3 separate regions of the Homo sapiens genome follow, and all the other regions are linked to region 2. Evidence: promoter capture Hi-C in 16 types of primary human blood cells and fetal thymus (Javierre and others, 2016). All regions are on one chromosome and are shown on one strand. The core of a region is centred on a gene start or on the middle of the fragment in contact, and the rest is flanking DNA. Distances in the headings are between cores, read along the strand shown.

Evidence for each region. The method cuts DNA at HindIII sites, captures the fragments that hold promoters and counts their contacts. A CHiCAGO score of 5 or more calls a contact.
Region 1: a contact is called between a fragment that was not itself captured here and the fragment with the promoter of ACSM6 in region 2, in 1 of 17 cell types (total B cells). The highest score is 5.3, in total B cells.
Region 3: a contact is called between a fragment that was not itself captured here and the fragment with the promoter of ACSM6 in region 2, in 1 of 17 cell types (total B cells). The highest score is 7.0, in total B cells.

Annotation. Positions count from the first base shown.
Region 1 is chr10:95,396,878-95,400,770 of GRCh38, forward strand. SORBS1 (sorbin and SH3 domain containing 1) reads right to left here. Exons shown (of 33, transcript NM_001034954.3): 12 at 2,140-2,312; 13 at 343-406. Among named protein-coding and RNA genes, the nearest start is that of PDLIM1, 110 kb to the left of the region's middle. The HindIII fragment of the contact is 6,773 bases long and covers 1-3,893 here.
Region 2 is chr10:95,191,773-95,195,726 of GRCh38, forward strand. It overlaps ACSM6 (acyl-CoA synthetase medium chain family member 6), which reads left to right and starts at 2,466. Exons shown (of 11, transcript NM_207321.3): 1 at 2,466-2,531; 2 at 2,693-2,905. The coding sequence starts at 2,714. The region is part of intron 3 of LOC107984257 (a long non-coding RNA gene); the gene reads right to left. The HindIII fragment of the contact is 2,815 bases long and covers 1,666-3,954 here.
Region 3 is chr10:95,347,197-95,350,947 of GRCh38, forward strand. The region is part of intron 25 of SORBS1 (sorbin and SH3 domain containing 1); the gene reads right to left. Among named protein-coding and RNA genes, the nearest start is that of PDLIM1, 58 kb to the left of the region's middle. RefSeq lists an enhancer at 1-369. The HindIII fragment of the contact is 3,355 bases long and covers 1-3,312 here.

The DNA of each region.
Region 1 (3,893 bases), core at 702-3,201, 200 kb after region 2:
GGAGATGTACCTAAAGCTGGAAGCAGGTGGGTGATGGAGCTGCTCACATCCCAGGCAGACAGATGCTGGAGCACAGGCAGAGTGCTGGGCTCAGCCTGCTGCATTCCACATCTGGGAGGAAGGATTTGAGAGCAGATCTCAAATTCCACCTCTGAGGCAGGCACACAAGTGCTTCCTCCCTCCTGTGCTCTGAAGGTGCATGGCTGGGCTCAGGCAGACCAGTACCTAATGAGGTCCAACTGCAGGACCCAGTCTTCTGGCATCCTAGCAAAGTGAGTTCAGGCCCACAAAACGTGTATTGGCACATAGCACAGCACAGCTTCTACAAATGAAAATCAGTACCTCTGTTCAGTTTGTGGATCTGTTTAAACATAGTCTTGTACCAGTCTTTTGATCTCTCAGTGTTCTGTAGAAAAACAAAGGCAAAGAGCAAAATTAAATGACTATCTTGACACATTTCAGACCTCCTATGATTTCAAAATCAAAATGGAAAGTAACAATATCTGAATTCAAAACTCAGCCACATTTATCTTTTTTAAAAAGGCAAAACTTTTTAGAAAGAGAAAAACCAAGAGTCCCAAACCTCAATCTACAGGGTAATATTTGGCTGAAAGGATACAGATTTTGAAAACAGTGGATGAGGATACACTTGAAAGGTATCCATTTTTAAATTTTTAAAATTTCACTTTTAGATAGAATCTCTCCATATATAGACTGTGCCAAACTGAAGGAAAGTCTCCTAGAAATATAAGAGACAAAGGATATTTGCTTATCATGCTGTGCCCCCAACCATTCTAGATTATTCAACAGCAATGTATCCGAGTCACCTTGCATAGGGCCAGATTTAGAATGCATACATTAAAACATAACTCGTTATAGCATCCACTGCCAGAGTTTTCACCCTAACCACAAAGTTGGAATGGTTGGGCTTTTTTTTTAAGATAAAAATAAAACAAGGAAGGTGACAGATAGGTGGCTAGATATTTTCACTCCCACTTTACAGAAGAGGAAATGAGATACAGAATGACAAAGCAAACTGCCCAAAGTCACAGAGCTGATGAGAAGGTGAGTGGAAGGGCCATCCAACGTGACGGTTAGGGGTAAGGGTTTGGGAGTCAGACAGACCATTCTGTCACCCACAAGCTGTGCAATCTTGGATGAGTAACAAATCCCTGAGTCCCCATTTCCTCATCTATAAGATGGAAATGATATTAGTATCCATTACTCACTTGGATGAGTGATGCTTAAATGAGATAATGTACTCAGCAAATGGTAGCTGTGATTTCTCTTAGGAATAACTCTCCTTCTATATTACTACTTAGAACCAGAGAAGAGTTATTTTGAGGCTTAGTCCACTGTGGTTTCTATTGGCCTCTTCCAAAGGGACATATTTGTTAAATGGAAATCACAGTGGAACATATTGCAGGCAATGGTCTAGTAGACACATGGAAAAGAATGGAATTCACCCAAATCCAGTTCCAAAAGTTGCCTAGCTTTATGTTAAATGTTTCTTGCCCATTGGAGCCTGTTCCCTGGAATTCCTTAGGGCCTGCAGGACTGGCAGGCCTGTGCTGCCGGGGAGAGCTGGGTCAGGGATGCCATGAGACCTGCTCTGTCCTGGAGGCTTGGCTGGCGGAATCCATTCTGAGGTTCCCTTAGTGTTCCCTACTCACTTTGGATGACATGTGATCTCCCATCCAGGGAGATCTTCCTGAACCTGTCAAAAGGGACCTTGGGCCTCACACTCTCCCCAGGATTCTCTTACCCTGGACCAGGAATTTCTCAACATGCTCCACACAGAACAATAATGAAGACTGCCCATAACATTGTCCCTAGAACACTCACATACTCAAAGCCTCTGAAAAGTTCTACAGCAGAGAAATCTCTCTGACTTGGTCCACCCAGCTTTTCCTCACATTTACTTGACCACGAAACCCTTTATTCATAGGACTTATAACATCCAACACCCACTTTGGGAAAAGCTGTTGTACACCAAGTCTGGAGCATAGCTTCTGGGGGATCTGGCACTCATGGGGCTTACAGAGACGATGGTGTGATGGGGTTCACATGTACTCAGAGTGTACACTTGTCACAGCTTAAGATGAAGCCTAAGAAGGACCTCTAAGTCAATATACATACCCGGAGTGGGATGCCCACTTCATCCATGGAAACATCGCTTAAGTCCTGAGTGCTCTTCACCACCCGCCTACTGTCATCCTTTGCTCTTTTTTCAATAGCCTTGCCAGGTGAGGTGGGTTTTTCCTGGGTTGGTGCTGAGTCCTGCTCTCCCACTCTTCTTTCTGAGACAGGATCTGGAAATGAAAAGCAATTGTTAGCTGAAGCTCTTTTGGTAGCTGCAAAACAAAACGCTCCTGAACAGGCTAGCTGGGGGGAAGCGTGTCTGCTAATTCTCAACTGGAATTAGTTCTGTTTAGAGCAGGGGTCAGCAAACTTTGGCCCATGGGCTGATTTTACTGGAACACAACCATGCCAATTCCTTTACATATTATTTATGGGTGCTTTTGCACTACGATGGCCGAGTTGAGTAGCTGTGACAGAAACCATATGGCCTGCAAAGTCTAAAATATTTATCATCTGGTCCTTAAAAAAAAAAAAAAGCCTTGCCAACAGTGTGATCAGAGCTTTGCAGAGGTATGCACATCGTGCTCTGGTCAACTGAGTAGTTCTGACTGTTCTAGAAATTAAGGAACAGGTAGAACCACAGGATGGGGCTAACATTACTTGAAAGTTTTCGATTCCTCTTGAGGAAGTCACTTAACTTTTCCATGCCTCAGTTTTCCTATCCAAAAACAGGGATAACACTTCTATTGGCAAGCTCACAGCAATGTGGTGAGAGGACTTATCAGGATAACTTATGCCAAAGTGTTCAGGAAGCTGTACATTGCTAAGTATACATTATAGATTATTTTTGTTCAAGACTGGAAGATATAGAGCACTAACAAAGATACCACATATGACCTAAGATTATAAAATTACTTAATAGAATCTGGCTTCCAAGCTATGACATTTATTTATTGGGCAGACATTGTGCTCTGCCTTGTGGACATGAAGGTGAGCATTCCAGAATCTTAGCCTTCAGGGAGCTTACAGTCTAGTGGGCAGAAAAACCAAGTGAGCCAGCAATGAGAATGCAGGGTGACAAAGGCCGATTCTCAGAAGAGAAGCCAATCAGACTCACAGGAAGCGAAGGGTGCTCCAGAGGAACAGCTTAAATAAATGCTTGGGGGCCTCTGGACTACTGAGCTAATTATGTGCCAAGCAATGCAATAAACTCTTCATTTACGTTCTCTCATTTTATCCTCCCAAAGATCTATGAGGAAGAAACTATTATCACCTTTTTTTTTTAATAGTTAAAGGATCAATACACAGAGAAGTTAAAGTACCCTGCCTGCGGCCACACAACCAGCTCATAGCCAAGCTGTGATGTGGCCTAATGTCCACCTGACTCTAGCAGTCCTCTCTGAACCACATCCTGTCTTGCCTCTTTCAAAGATGGTACCAAGGTTTCAAGTCTGGAAGCCTGGCCTAAGCCAAATGGAGAAGTTAGAATTGGGTTAGGAATGGGAGGGAGAAATGGCTGCTTCCATATGGACTATGGTAACTTTGAGAAGACAGCAAGATACTCAAGTAGGAATGCCCTAGAGATCCCTAGAGGAACTATGAAGGGGCCCAGGTGAGACACCCTAACAGGAGTGCAACTTTGGAGGCATCAGCCCAAAAGTGATGGCTGACGCCAGGGAGATGGCAGAGCTCAGTGGTGGACAGAAGCAAGGCCAGAGTAAAGCGCTAAAGTCATGCATGGAAGGGCACCACAGTTATAGCTGCAAGGCAAAAGAATCCCCAAAGTGATGCAAAGTAATCCGAGGGACAGG
Region 2 (3,954 bases), core at 1,216-3,715:
ATATCGAGATGACAGCAAAGGTGAGATTGCCTCCCAGAAAGCAGAATTAGTACTTGCCAAGTGAGCTGAGAACCCAAACACTGCCAGGATGTATGCTTTCACCATTCCTGCCCAGCAGGATTTGACAACTGGGTATTGCTGGGCCCAAGTCAGCTGGGTAATGCTCATTTTTCTCTTTCCAGTCTTGGAGTTTTCCATGCAATTTTATGGTTCCCACTTCAGACCTAAAGAGTGGGTTGTTTGGAGAGTAGAGATAACTTATGTTTTAGTTTCTAGTTTGCCATATGGCAGGGACCCCATCCCTGTTGGTTGAAGAGAACTGAGCAATACCCTCCATCTTGAATTTTGAGTTAGATGTAGCAATTCTGTGAGACTTAGAGGTTATGCTTCTTGGAGAATATTCTATAAATGGGAAAACTGTTCCATGTTGTGTTCATGGATAGTCAATGAATAGACTGTGATGGAAAATGCTAGTTGTCTCTCAGTATTCATGCCCACATCTCTCTCATGCATATGGAATCTCCAGTTCTTAGTTGAGCATATAGGCACTCAGAATAAAGATCACAGTTCCCAGACTCTTTCTGAAGCCACATAACTTAAGTCTGCGCCAATGGAATATGAGCAGAGGTAATGTGTAAAAATTTCTAGTTATTCACCTAGGCAAGGGGAATGTTCTTCCCCTCACCACTCTCCCGTCCCACTGGATGGAATATGGACGTGATGGCAAGTTGTTTCAGAAATGCCCTAAAGATGGTGGAGCAACGTTACAGAAAGAATCTGGGTCCCTGAAAGGGTGAAGATACTAAACCAGTGTGATGGATGATTTTAGGTGTCAACTTGACTGGATTCAGAGATACCTAGATATCTGGTAAAGTATTCATTTCTTGATGTGCCTGTGAGGGTGCTTCTGAAGGATATTGGTGTGTGAGTAGGTGGATTGAGTGGGAAAGATCCACCCTCAATGTGGTAGGCGCCATCTTATTGGCTGAGGGCCTAGATGCAATGAAAAGCTGAGAAAGGGAAAATTTCTCTCTCTTTCCGTGTGTGTGTGTGTGTGTGTGTGTGTCTATCTACCTCTCCCCCTCCTGGAACTGGAACACCCTTATTCTCCTGCCCTTGGATATCAGAACTTCAGGTTCTCAGCCCTTCAGCCTCAAATTGAGAGTTAGGCCATTGGCTTCCCTGGTTCTAAAGATTTCAAACTTGGACTAAGCCACACTACCAACTTCTCTTGTTCTTCAGCTTACACCATAGGACTTCTCAGCCTCCATAATCACATGAGCTAATTCCCCTAGTAAGTCCCTCTCACATATCTGTATCTATATTCATCTTTATTTCTCTATTTCCTATTGGTTCTGTTTTTCTGGAGAACCCTGACTAATACAAACAGCTTTTCACTGCATATGCTCAGACTGTCAATTGAAGAAACAAATTTACTATTTTGTGTCTTTGTTGAAGCAGCCAAACTTATATCTAACCAATGCACCACAATAAGGAGTTTATTCATCTTAAAGGCAGCGTGATGTTTTAGGCAGTACTTGGACTAGATAATTTATTGGAATATTTTAGTTCTAATATTAGATATAGTTACAATGTTAATATCATCAAATTGAAACCATTAAATCTCAGATTTCTGGAATGCGAATAAGTGAACCCATCATCCAAAGCTTACATTATTTTACTCCCTCTGGCGACTGGAAACATGGATAGGAATTGTGATGAAGAACTTCAACCACCAGTAACCAAGTTACACCTCACACAGTTATAAATAAAGTTAAAATCTTATCAAAACAATAAATCTTCAATATTTTATTAAACAAATATTGTGACCTCTTTTAAATATATGTTATACACACCCCCTTTCAAATTTTAGTTTTGCTAATTTGAGGCTCCAAGGTGGACCCTCCCACCGCCCCCCGCTGAGGATCATGAGATCTGGCTCCCTACCTGATTGTTGCAAGACTTTCACCTACACTACCTTGAGTACGAGACTTTCACCTACACTACCTCGAGAGGCAATCCCTAGAGGGCCTTCGATGTGCCTATTTATTTAAAAAAAAAAAAAAAAAAAAAAAAAAGGCCTGTCATCTCAGTGGGTTAAAGAGGCAGGGTGTGGTTACCTCACCTGGCTGATGAGCAACCCCCTTCTCCCTTTCTGCAGTGCAGGATTTTGTAAGCAACAAAATCTTATTTAAACTCTGTGTCCATCATCTTTTCACCACACTTGGCACAGTAGTCTGTGACCTATTTCTCCTGACATCATATCAGAAAGCAAGGCACACCTGTTGCTTCAACTTAGCTCACAGCCCATAGATTTTATCTCCCAGAAGCAAAAGAGATTGCCTTTTAGGCTTGAGAGCCAATGAAAGTGAGCCAGGACTTAGTTTGTGCTGGCACCAAGGAAATGCCTTTTTCCCCAGAGCCGGCAACTAAACTATAAGAGGTAAGCAGTTCTCAGAGGAGACAGAAGGCAACAGCTCTACCATCCTCCAAACATCTGAAGCCCCCCATAGAAACTCCTCTTGGAATTGGTAAGTATCTGTGCTCATGGGCTTCTTCTCCAATGATCTGACTGTTGCTTGTACTCATAAGGAAATTGTTTGCCTTATGGATTCATTCTCAGCACTACAATCTCAGTGATTATCCCTCTGAGCTGCTCAATTACTCCCTGTCTTTTCCTCAATTTACCTAGGTGGTTCCCTGTCTGACCCAAATGCTAGGCCGATTTCAACCCTTCTCCTTGGTCCGGAGTTTCAGACTGGGATTTGAAGCCTGCTGCTATCCAAACCAAAAATGTGCTACTCAGACCATCAGACCCCCTGACTCCAGGTGCCTAGTCCAAGCAGTTTCTCAGAACTTTAATTTTGCAAAGGATGTGTTGGATCAGTGGTCCCAGCTGGAAAAGGTAAAACTTGTTGTTTTCTACCTTGGAAACTTTGGCCAAGGCCAGTTGGTAAAGCGTCCAAAGATCATGAGATTCATATCCCATCTATGGCTGGCACTAGAAAGTGCAAATTCAGAGAAAAGAAATTATAGCAAAATGACTAAGAACATAGGCTTGACAGCCAGATGGTTCTACATTGAAATCCTGGCTCTGCTGCTAAATAACCATGCAAACTTGGACAAGTTATTTGCCTTCTAGGACCTTAGTTTTGTTATCAGTAAAATTGAGATATTAATGGTGTGTTTTTCACAGTGTTGTCGAGAAGATTAAATGAGACAATCAATAAAAAGTGTTTAGCACAGGACTCAACACCCTGAAAACACTCAATAAAAGTTAGCTTTTATTATCACTAGTAATATTATTGTCACATAGATATGATTCTAATTAACCAACATTTTTGAGCATCTTCTAGCACATACAAAATTTTAGAAGCCAAACACTAAAGGAACTTACTGCGTAGTGTTTTTCTTTAAAGCAAATGATAGCCACAAAGTGCTGAAAAAGAAGTGCCAAAGGAAATAAGTATAAGTATGCCTCTGGATAATGGAATTTAGAAAGATTTGATAAAGGAGGTGGTATTTACTGCATCCTGAAGAATGAGAAGAATTTCAACAAAAAGACAAGGGAAAGACTGTCTAGGCAGGAACAACCACATGAATAGAGACATCATGGAAAGAAGGAAGAGTATTCAGGAACAGTTTGGCTAGGTATAGGGTCAGAGGGAAGAGTATTGAGTTATGAGGAGAAAACAGGCAGGAAGCAGTCTAATTTTGAAAGGCCCTGCTGTGTGGAGTGGACTTGCTTACTCTCTGGCTAGGTAACTCTGGAGCAAGTCATTTTAACTCTCTGAGCCTCATTTCCTCCCTCTGTCAAGTGGGGCTGGTGGTGCCCGCAGGAGAATCCAGTGCGTGTGGAGAGTGAGCAGCGAGAGTTATTTGCATGTGTAATATCTGATTGCCCCTCTATTCTCCTCCCCTCCCCAGGCCCCTTCCTGGCCCTCCCCACCTTCA
Region 3 (3,751 bases), core at 385-2,884, 150 kb after region 2:
CAGGAGCACAAATAACATTCCTAACATTCTTCCTCACATCTCTTCCTTGCTTTGAAGTTGGCTGCTGCTCTCAACTTTCCCTCAGTTCAAATCTCAATTCCTGCCATAGGTGAAGGCCTTTGGGTAGTTTCTCCCTACTCTTACAGAATTGCCTTTATCTCTACTACACTGTTCCTGTTCCAGTCAAATCTATTTGCTACACCTCAGCTGAACCCCCTCCTACCCTCTCCTCTATCTGGAATTTCTTTTTTTTTTTGAGACAGTGTCTTACTCTGTCTCCCAGGCTGGAGTGCAGTGGCACGATCTCAGCTCACTGTAACCTCTGCCTCCCAGGTTCAAGCAATTCTCCTGCTTTAGCCTCCCGAGTAGCTGGGACTACAGGCATGTGCCACCACGCCAGGCTAATTTTTGTATTTCTCGGTAGAGACTGGGTTTCACCATGTTGGCCAGGCTGGTCTCTAACTCCTGGCCTCAAGTGATCCACCCACTTTGGCCTCCCAAAGTGCTGGGATTACAGGTGTGAACCACTACGCCCGGCTGTGGAATTTCTTTCTTTTTTTTGAGACAGCGTCTTGCCCTGTTGCCCAGGATGGAGGGCAGTGGCACAATCATGGCTCACTGCAGTCTTGACTCCCCAGGCTCAGGTGATCTTCCCACCTCAGCCTCCTGAGTAGCTGGGACTACAGGCATGCACCACCACGCCTGGGTAACTTTTATACAGATAGGGTCCCACAATGTTGCCCAGGCTGGTCTCAGATTCCTGGGTTCAAGCGGTCCTCCTGCCTTGGCCTCCCAAAGTGCTGGGATTACAGGTGTGAGCCACTGTGCCTAGCCTTCCACAGGCATTTTTAAAGTCTGCATTTTCACATTGATGTTTTCATCTATCTACCCATCTATACCAAACGTACGGGGGCCAAGTGAATGATCACCTTATAATCTAGTTAAAGCCACACAATTTCAATACCTGTGTTTGTGTCTGTAACCAAAGGGCATAATTTCACAGTTGCAGGTGAACAAGAAAATAATGGATGTGGGGTTAATGATAAATGACAAGTTCACAAGAGAAAACTAAATGACCAAAATTATAAGGATACGAATTTCACAGTGATTTCAATAGAAAAACACAAGGAAGTAGGTTACCTCATGTCACCCAGCTGTAGAGCTGTGTGAACTTTAAAAAATGTATACCAAAGCAGCACAGCATTCACACTTTGGTAACTGAGTTCTGTCAAAACAATATCTCCTATCAATTAAATCAATATAATTATATAGCTGTGTAGTTTATGGTTACTTTGTAAGCAGACTTAGGTTAATAATGTGGGGTGGTGAGATTTTTTTCATTAAAGACCTGTTAAAATTCACTGATTCCATTGAACTCTTGAGACGTGTATGTGAGTCATCGATGGTTATACAAAGCAACATCCTCTCCTTCTTTATCTCCCTATAGCTCCCAAGGCTAAATCCATCTTTCCCTCCTCTGGCTTTCACAGTATTGTATTACTTACTACAGGACAGAGATAACTGTATAAGAGGGAGACTTCCACTATCAGCTCCCCAAGGGCACAGACTGAGTTCTTTCTGCCTCCCATAGGGTCTTACACAGAACCTGTGGTCACCCAAGTCCTACCGAATGGGATTGAAGTGCATTGACACAGTGTGGTGCACCTGGGATGTGTTGGTCTCTACTTTTTCTAGTCCACAGTCAACCTCTAGGGCAGTGATTCTCAAAATGTGGTCCCTAAACTGGTATAATCAATATCACCTGGGAAATTGTTAAAAATGTAAATTTTCAGGCCCCACTGCAGAATCAGAAACTTTGCAGATAGGACCCAGGGTCTGTATTTTACCAAGCCCTCCAGGGGATGCTAACGCACTTGTCAGAGTTTGAGAAGCATTGCTCTAGAAGGGAGGCAGGCTCACTGAGCTGAGTTTGCCTGCCTCTGTCTGTGGTTATTCCACCCACGGTGCATTTCTGTTTGCATGTATCATGTACATGTGTAAGTGTGCAGCCGTAGTGCCTTCACCTGTTCCCATCTTCTTCTACCTACAAGCAGGCAGGACTGTCAGTGAGGACAAACCATGCCCAGAGCCTTCTGAGAAGGGCCTTTTTGAGGAGGAGCTGGAATGTTGAGGGCTCAAGGGCTATCTTTCCCTTGCAATTAACATTCGCTAACTTTTGCTTCTTCCTTGATAGATTTTCTTTCTCTCCATCATTTTAGAGTCTCCTTCTCTTCCCCAGCTTTCCTTTTTCTTTTAATTTGAGACAGCCTCAAATTTCTTTAAATTTGAGACAGGATCTCACTCTGCCATCCATGGTGGAGTGATGTGTTCATAGCTCATTGCAGTCTTGAACTTTTGGGGTCAAGTGATCCTCCCACCTCAGCCTCCCAAGTGGCTATGACTATAGGCGTGTGCCACCAAGCCTGGCTAATTTTTCTATATATATACATTTTTTTGTAAAGACGAGGTCTCCCTATGGTGCAAAGGCTAGTTTCGAACTCCTGGCCGTAAGTGATCCTACTGGCTCAGCTTCTCATAGTGCTGGGATTATAGACTTGAGCCACTAAACCCAGCCAGCTTTCTTTCTTTTAATTTGGTTCCCTCTTTTCACTATCTCTTCTTCCCAGACACATTTTTTTTTTTTTTTTTGAGACAGGGTCTTGCTCTGTTGCTCAGGCTGGAGTGCAGCGGCATGATCATGACTCACTGCAGCCTTGAGCTCCCAGACTCAAGCAACCCTCCTGCCTCAGCCTCCTCAGTAGTTTGGACTACAGACATGTGCCACCACACCTGGCTATCTACCAATCTATCTAATTAATTAATTAATTAGAGATGGGGGTCTTACTATGTTGCCCAAGCTGGTGTCGAACTCCTGGGCTCAAGCAATTCTCCCACCTTGACTTCCCAAAGTACTGGGATTACAGGTGTAAGCCACTATGCCCAGTCATATTTCTAAAATAAAAAAGATAGGCAATGATACTCTAGATAGAAAAATAAATAAAAAATAAAATAAAAAAGATAGAAACAAATATTAATCTACTGTACTGAAAGGTTATAAAACAGTACATACTTTGGGTGTTATTCCCCCATTCCCCTAGCTCCCACCCTAAATCCCAGACTTACCCATTTTCCCTAAAAGAGATCATCTTCAGCAGCGCTACTTAAGGGTTACATGGCAAAGCATAAACTCTTACGCAAGATACAGCATTTGGCTAGCATGAGAATTTCGACATGTTGACCTTAGTGCAGGAGGCCAAGATCTGGATAAAAATCACTTCAAAGTTTGTTCTTCTCTTTCCTCTTATAATATTAAGCTTTCATAATCTAGGCTTGGAAATGTCAAAACTAAAAGAACAAATGAAACGTCCCTTGGAGAACTCTCTTACCCTCTGTGGGTTTTTCCTAACTGCAAAAGTCTTTGGGCTTCAAAATTCTTTAGTGAGGCGCACTACTGCAGCACTGCTGAACACTTCACACAATTCATCCACCTACATGTGAGCAGCAGCACTGTTCTATATTTCAAAATTAATGTCACTAAATTTGGAGGCCTTTGTAAATGGCATAAATTATTGTTAAGCTAACTTTCGTAAAGTTTCATTAACCATCTTTTCAAAGAAGAATTGTGTAACTGTCCACACCATAGCTACCAATGCATATGGACTCAGGTATAAGGTTTCTAAGCAGAATGCACAGGCAACACAGTAGCATGATAAAATGCAGGATGTGGAGGGCTGGACTCATGAAGGCAGCC